2 separate regions of the Homo sapiens genome follow, and region 1 is linked to region 2. The links are contacts of gene promoters, found by promoter capture Hi-C in blood cells and fetal thymus (Javierre and others, 2016). All regions are on one chromosome and are shown on one strand. The core of a region is centred on a gene start or on the middle of the fragment in contact, and the rest is flanking DNA. Distances in the headings are between cores, read along the strand shown.

The links. Contacts are between HindIII fragments. The CHiCAGO score rates a contact against its expected background, and 5 or more counts as called.
Region 1: a contact is called between a fragment that was not itself captured here and the fragment with the promoter of LAMB3 in region 2, in 4 of 17 cell types (monocytes, neutrophils, M1 macrophages and 1 more). The highest score is 14.7, in monocytes.

What each region holds. Positions count from the first base shown.
Region 1 is chr1:209,726,937-209,730,258 of GRCh38, reverse strand. The region is part of intron 4 of HSD11B1 (hydroxysteroid 11-beta dehydrogenase 1); the gene reads right to left. All of the region lies in intron 1 of HSD11B1-AS1 (HSD11B1 antisense RNA 1), which reads left to right. Among named protein-coding and RNA genes, the nearest start is that of HSD11B1-AS1, 14 kb to the left of the region's middle. The HindIII fragment of the contact is 5,210 bases long and covers 1-3,322 here.
Region 2 is chr1:209,651,175-209,654,689 of GRCh38, reverse strand. It overlaps LAMB3 (laminin subunit beta 3), which reads left to right and starts at 2,265. Exons shown (of 23, transcript NM_000228.3): 1 at 2,265-2,321. RefSeq lists an enhancer at 1,564-2,763. The HindIII fragment of the contact is 2,819 bases long and covers 1,638-3,515 here.

The DNA of each region.
Region 1 (3,322 bases), core at 753-3,252, 76 kb before region 2:
AGTCCACCAAAAGCAGCCCTAAACTATTACCTGAGAAGAAGGAATCTCTCTTTGTTAAGTTGCAGTGAGGTTTTTGACTTCTTTCTTTTCAACTGGGATACCCTTTATTTCTTTCTCTTGTCTAATTGCTCTGGCTAGAACTTCCAGTACTACGTTGAATAAAAGTGGTGGAAGTTGGCATCATTGTCTTGGTCCAAATCTTGGTGGAAAGGCTTTCAATTTTGTCCAGTTCAGTAAGATATTAGCTATAGGTTTGTCATGTATGGCCTTTATGATGTTGAGGTATATCCCTTCTATACCCAATTTGTTGAGGGTTTTTATTATGAAGGGATATTGCATTTTACCAAATGCTTTTTCATCATCTACTGAAATGATTATATATTTTTGCCTTTGATTCTGTTGATGTGATGTATCACATTTATTGATTTGCTTATGTTGAACCATCCTTGCATCTTGAAGATGAATCCTACTTGATCATAATGAATGATCCTTTAAAATGTTGTTGAGCTCTGTTTGCTAGTATTTTGTTGAGGATTTTTGCATCTGTGTTCATCAGGGATATTGGCCTGTGGTTTTCTCTTTTTTGTTGTATCTTTAGTTTTGGTTTCAATGTTGGGACACATCCTTAAAAGGAGAAGCCAGTCTCTCCTTCCCAATCCTTTGTCCTTCTTGGTGTCTGAAGGTGGATGTAATGGCTATGGCTCCAGACCTATCTTGGACCATGAGGTAGAAGCCACGTGTTGAGGATGGCAAAACATTTAGATAGTTTAGATAGAAGGAAGGAACCTGGGTGACCATGGAGCTGCCATACTATACTGGCCCTATACTGCCTACCTTCAGACCTGATTTAAATTTTAACTTACTTGTGTGTGTGTGTGTGTGTGTGTGTGTGTGTTTTCCGAGGCAGAGTCTTGCTCTGTTGCCCAGGCTGGAGTGCAATGGCATGATCTCGGCTCACTGCAACTTTTGCCTCCCAAGTTCTAGTGATTCTTCTGCCTCAACCTCCCGAGTAGCTGGGATTACAGGTTTGAGCTACCAAACCTGGCTAATTTTTGTATTTTTAGTAGAAACAGGGTTTCACCATGTTGGCCAGGCTGGTCTTGAACTCCTGATCTCAAGTGATCCACCTGCCTCGGCCTCCCAAAGTATTGGGATTACAGGCATGAGCCACTATGCCTGGCCTAAATGCTAACTTATTGAATCCACTATTATTTTAGGTTTTCTGTATCTGAGAGCTGGACTTACTTCTTATTGATAGTTATCCTCACTTCTATGCAGCCCATGTGCCAAAAGAAAGCTGACATCATTCCTAACTGCAGGTATGAGCTTATGTAATCTATTTTATCCCATTCTTCTTACTCATGATTGATACAGGAATGGCCATGTGGCTCATTTTGGACCAATGAGATTTGAAGAAAATTTTGTTGGAGTGTCTCAAAAAGTTATTGTTTTTCTGGAAGAGTTTCTGAGAGTAGCAATCCTCTTTTTCTTCCAACACATTTTTTGTGCATTGATATGGGGGCTGGAATTGCTGCAGCTATCTCATTGTCAGCCTGAGGATGAAGCCACACATGGAAGAGAGCAGAGCCAAGAGAATCACGGGGACACTGAGCTTCAGCCAAGTCAACTGTGAAGCCTGCCCTACATCTGGACTTCCAGTTATGTCAATAATTTTCCTTATTGTTTGAGACAAAAATAGATCCACATTACTTATCAGAATAGCATAATAATTAAAAGTATGAGCTCTAGAGTCAGATGACCCAGGTGTGAATCCCAAGTATGCCAATTCTTAGCTGTAATATGTGGATAATAATATAACCAAGCTGAAGTAACCCATGTAATATACTTAGCACAAACTCTGGCACATAGAAAGCATTCAGAAAATGCTATTATTGTTAGCAGTATTAGTATTCAAATTGGTGAGAAAAGTATGAGCTATTCAAAAAATCATGTTGGGACAAATAGCTAGTTACTTGGAGAAAAAAGTGCCATTCTAATAAACAAATTCAAATTAGATCACAGAGTATATGTGGAAAGTAAAAAACTAAAATAAGCTATTGGTGAATTTCTAATCTCAAAGTTAGAGATACTTTTTAAAGCATGAAATTGGAGGCATATACTATGAAGGAAGACATAAATAGGTTGGAATATATAAAATGTGAAAAGCTACAGTGTACTAGAAATGCTTGCCATGGACTTCCTGCCCTCATCCCCTTCAAAGAGCCTTTATCTTTCTAGCCATGGAAGGTTGGCCCAGTTATCACGAATATGCACACTGGCTTGAACACACATCGTGGTCTCTCTTTCAATAAATTGAAATAAGTGACCAAAAGATTCTGATTGCTGCTGTTGGATTTTGAATGAAAAGGTCATGTAAGGTTGGGACTGGGGTAGCCATTTCAGCCATGGAGAGGGATAAGTAAGCGGAGACAAGTATTCTGCAAAAATAAGCAAGCATATGGAGCAAACACAATAACCTCTGAAATTGAGCTAAATAGGAACTAACATTTATTTAGCTCTTATGTGCCAGTGTAGAATCTAAAGGATAAATGCTCAAAGTTTCAAGGTTAATGAGTGGGAGAAGCAGGATTCAAACCAGGATTCAAATTTGACTCTAGTGGCCCACACTCTTGAACACTAGGTGGTACTTCCTCTACAGAAGGCACTGTTCTTTATATGAGTGTTTTCCAGGAGCCATGTGTTAAATCCAGTTCTTTCTGCATTGGTGAGGATTCTCTCTCTTTTGATAGTCGAGTCCAAAATAGGCAAAATTTATGAATAGCAGTATTATTTTCACTTCTAAGCTGACAGATGAGGATACCCATAAATAAACAGGGCTAGTCACTCCTAGTCCCTTTGTATTCATTTCCCTGGGCTGCCATAACAAATTACCACAAACTTGGTAGCGTAAGACTACAGAAATGTGTTCTCTTACAGAACTGGAATCCAGAAGTCCAAAACCAAGTTATCAGCACAGCCATGCTCCCCCCAAAACCTATAGCAGGGAATCCTTCTTTTTTCTCTTCTAGCTTCTAATGTCTGCTGGCAGTTGGAGCTGAGTTGTGCTGGCAACTCCAGTCTCTGCCTCCATCTTCACATCACTTTCTTCTCTTCTGTCTGTGTCTTTTACTCTTCATATAAGGTTACTTGTCATTGGATTCAGGGCCTCTCAGATAATCGGGAATGATTTCATCTTGAGATCTTAGTTACATCCTCAAGGACTTTCTATGTGTCCACTTAAGGTCACGTTCACAGGATCTAGGTGGATATATCTTTTGGGGGAGGACCACCATTCAGCCCACTACACACCCCTAGATGACAA
Region 2 (3,515 bases), core at 1,016-3,515:
ACTTTCCTGAGCACACATTCTAATAAGTCAAGGCTCTAGGGCAGATAAGTGCTCTGTTGTAGGAGGATGGGCGCAGGGAGAGAGGAAAGGTGTGCACACAGGGGAGGCTGAGGGGCTCCAGCCACAGTACCACACCCCTTTAATCTTAGCTGGACCCTGATCTGGCCTCAGGCTCTATTTTAGGCTACTTGACTGAACAAATTGGGTTCTGAAGCTCCAGAGCTTGTGCCTGGAGCCCTGGAGTTCTTGGGGGACTGGATCCCCACTTGGAAATGATCAGTGTCCCTCAGGAGTGAGGCTGGCTGGGCTGCTCTTGGGGGTCTGCATAAACAGCTTCCTGGACTTTGCCGGGAGTGTAGGGGAGAGCCAAGCACAGCAATTGGCATGTCCCTCCTGCGAAGCCAAACCACTCCAGGACCTGCCCAAGCCTGTGAAGTCTGAGACACCGAATGTGTATTTACCTGGGCTCATGGCCTCAGATAAAGGGAGGAGGAGGAGGATTTAAGGGGCCCCAGCTACTCATGGTGAGGCCCACCGCACACCTGCCCTGCCTTTTCTCCTCTGAGGATCTGGGATTGCAACACCTGCTCTCTTCTGCTGAGTTAATTATTAATGAGTTCTTTGTCACATCCTCTGGTGATGGGCAGAGGGCGAAAGTTTCATGAGCGCTCTGAGTTCAGGGAGTTGGGGAAGTGGAGAGAAAGAGACCACCAGGTGGGAGAACTGAAAACACAGGTGTGTCAGAGTCAGAGCTGACCTTTCTCGGTGGGGGACTTGAGGGAGGTCTCTCTGTGTTGAAGGGACACTGCTTCTACTGACCTTACTTGCTGAGTTGAGCTAGATTTCACTGGAATGCTTACAGGGGGCAAGACTCTAACATTTATTGGACTATCAATTATGCATCAACTTACATCAACAACTCACTGCCCACTTGCTAATTACACTATTTCTTCTGCCTACCTGAACTTATGCTTAATTCGAATCTGAGGGTTAGAAATGCCCAATTTAATCCACAAAATTCTACATTTCCCCCTTAAGGGTCTTCAAGCCAATTTCTTGGACATAACCCTCCAATGGTGGAGAACTTTCTGTTTAGGAGACACTAACAAAGTGGAATCGTAGTTAAGAAGCTCCTTTAAATAGTAGCTTTGAGGTCCTAGCATTCCAAAACGGTGCCAGTGCAGGCTCTCCAGGGCCAAGATATGGACTGGCTGACCCTCCAGGTTTCCCTAAAAGCTCTCTGACCCTAACCTGGGGGAAAGAGTGTCCTGTGAGACCAGCCTCTCAATTTGGACCTGCCACTTCCATTTACAGTGGCTGGAAGCCCAGGATCCCTGAGCAAGGAGCCCACAAAAGAAGCTGTGTTCTCAGGCCTGGCAGGAGGCCAGGGAAAGTCTGTTTTGACTTTGTCAGTCAAGCTATGCTTCAGCCTTTCCTTCCACCACTTGTGGTCAGGTCTGTTTTCTGGCCCTCCAGGCGGGCATTCCTGCCTAGGGAGGGAGGGGCTAGGAGACTAACCCTCCCCACAGGTGGGAGGAGTGACTCACAGGCAGCTACCTGTCCCAGGGCTCCCTGCCAACCCTGTGGAGGGAGCTGGAGGCGAGCCATTTAGTTACTCTGCTCATTTCTCTTAAGCTTTCCTTGGATGAGTTGAGCTTTGAATCCTTCCTGATGAACCTTGCCTTTTAAGGATCCTCCAAATGCCCCAAGAAGCTGGGATTTTTCATTTTTTTTTTCACTGGGGAGGGGAATGGTGCTTTCCAGGGTCCTGGATGTTTGAGTCTTCTCACCTTCCAGCCCGGTGATATGTCTGGAGCTTTAACTCTCTATATAAGCCCTAATCTTTGTGTTCTCTGCCTGATCTTCTGTCTGGGGTGGTCCAGGTCACAAGAAGAAGCTGACCCCTGCTGGCTTTGGGAAAATGCTGAGTTCATTGCCTGGCACAAATGCAAGGGCCCTTCCCCACCCTGTGAATTCTGGTCTCTGATGATCACTTACATGTGCCTTGTGCTTTCTGTTTGAGGGGCCCCTTGCAGCCCCCACAGGCAGGTGGGCATTGTGGAGCTCACTACAAGAACTCTGGGACGGACCGACCAACCCACTTGCCCAGTCCCGTCCTGGGAGGTGGGGGTGCAGTGACGACAGATGGGTGTGACGGCTGCCAGATTCCTGAGACCCGCCCTGCGGTGGGGCTACACCCAGCCAGGGAGTCTCCAGAGGTGAGGCTGTTGTTTAAAAACCTGGAGCCGGGAGGGGAGACCCCCACATTCAAGAGGAGCTTTCAGGCGATCTGGAGAAAGAACGGCAGAACACACAGCAAGGTATGTTACCTGTCTTTACCTGCCTGGTGCGGGCCGGATGCGGGAGGAGGACTGTATCTCTGGATGCCTGGGGCCTGGTTTCAGGGCCTGATTTATTCCTCTTCCTGGGAGCTCACTCAGGTGAGCTAGGTTAAAATGTCTGCTACAGTTTTGATTTCTTTTTCACATTTGATAAGCACCTCAGTGGCTTAGAAGAAAGCAGGTTCAGATCCGGGGTTGAGCACAAAAGAGAAGTGAGAAGGGTGGGCTGGCCTGGCTCAGAATGCCTACTTGCAGGGGGATTTTCAGTCAGGGGTGGGAAAGCTGAGAAAGCACTGGATGAAAGTCAGAAGATGGGTCTCTCTTAGGCCATCGTTAGCTGTGGGACCCCAGGCCACATGTTCCCTCCCTGGGCCCATGACTCTTTTAGGAGAGGGATTGGAAGGAATGATTTTGAAGCATTAGGATCTATAATTTAAAGATGCCAGAAATGTCCTCAATTTCCCCCCCCGCCCCTGCCTTGCCAAGCCCCCAGCCCTCCACCCCAGCCAAAAGAGTTTGTGGCTGTCATTGGAACAGAGTGAACATCCAATTCAAGGCAGAAGGGTCACTGCATGAGCAAGGGTGGGGCATGTTTCCACAAGGCAGGCCTGCCTCTGGGACCCCACGGTGGCTTTCGAGCATCCTTCCCCAGCCTCCTTCAGAATCCCTGCTTTGTGGCCTCCCAGCCCCACCCCTCTTGTCGAGCCCCAGCCCATCATTGAAGACATTTTGGGTTGCTTCCCTTTCAGAAGAAACCCTCACTCACTTGTTAAAGACAGCCATACATCTCTCCCTGTTGCATCCCAGAATTGTGGGCACAGAGCCTCAAACTCAAAGTGGCCCTGAATGGTATTGGAGGCCATGCCCGTGACAGGAGAAGGTTTGCCTCCAGGCCGTCAGCCACTCTGACTCATTCACTTTGGGCGGGGCTGGGTTGAGGCTGCTGGTCTAGGCCCTGAGAAAAGCCAGCCCTCTCTCTTGGGGCTGGAACTAGGTCTTGGCCCTTTCTACAGCTTTTCTCCTGCAAAGGGTCCAGCCTTTTCCTGCTCCCCACGTTGTCCTTACGGCTGTGTGGGGTAGGGCAGGGTCCACACTCCTTCCCATCCATTTTAGAGGAGGAAGCTGGAGTCTGGGAAGGGATGGGATTTTCCCAGGGCACCCTGTGAGTCACAT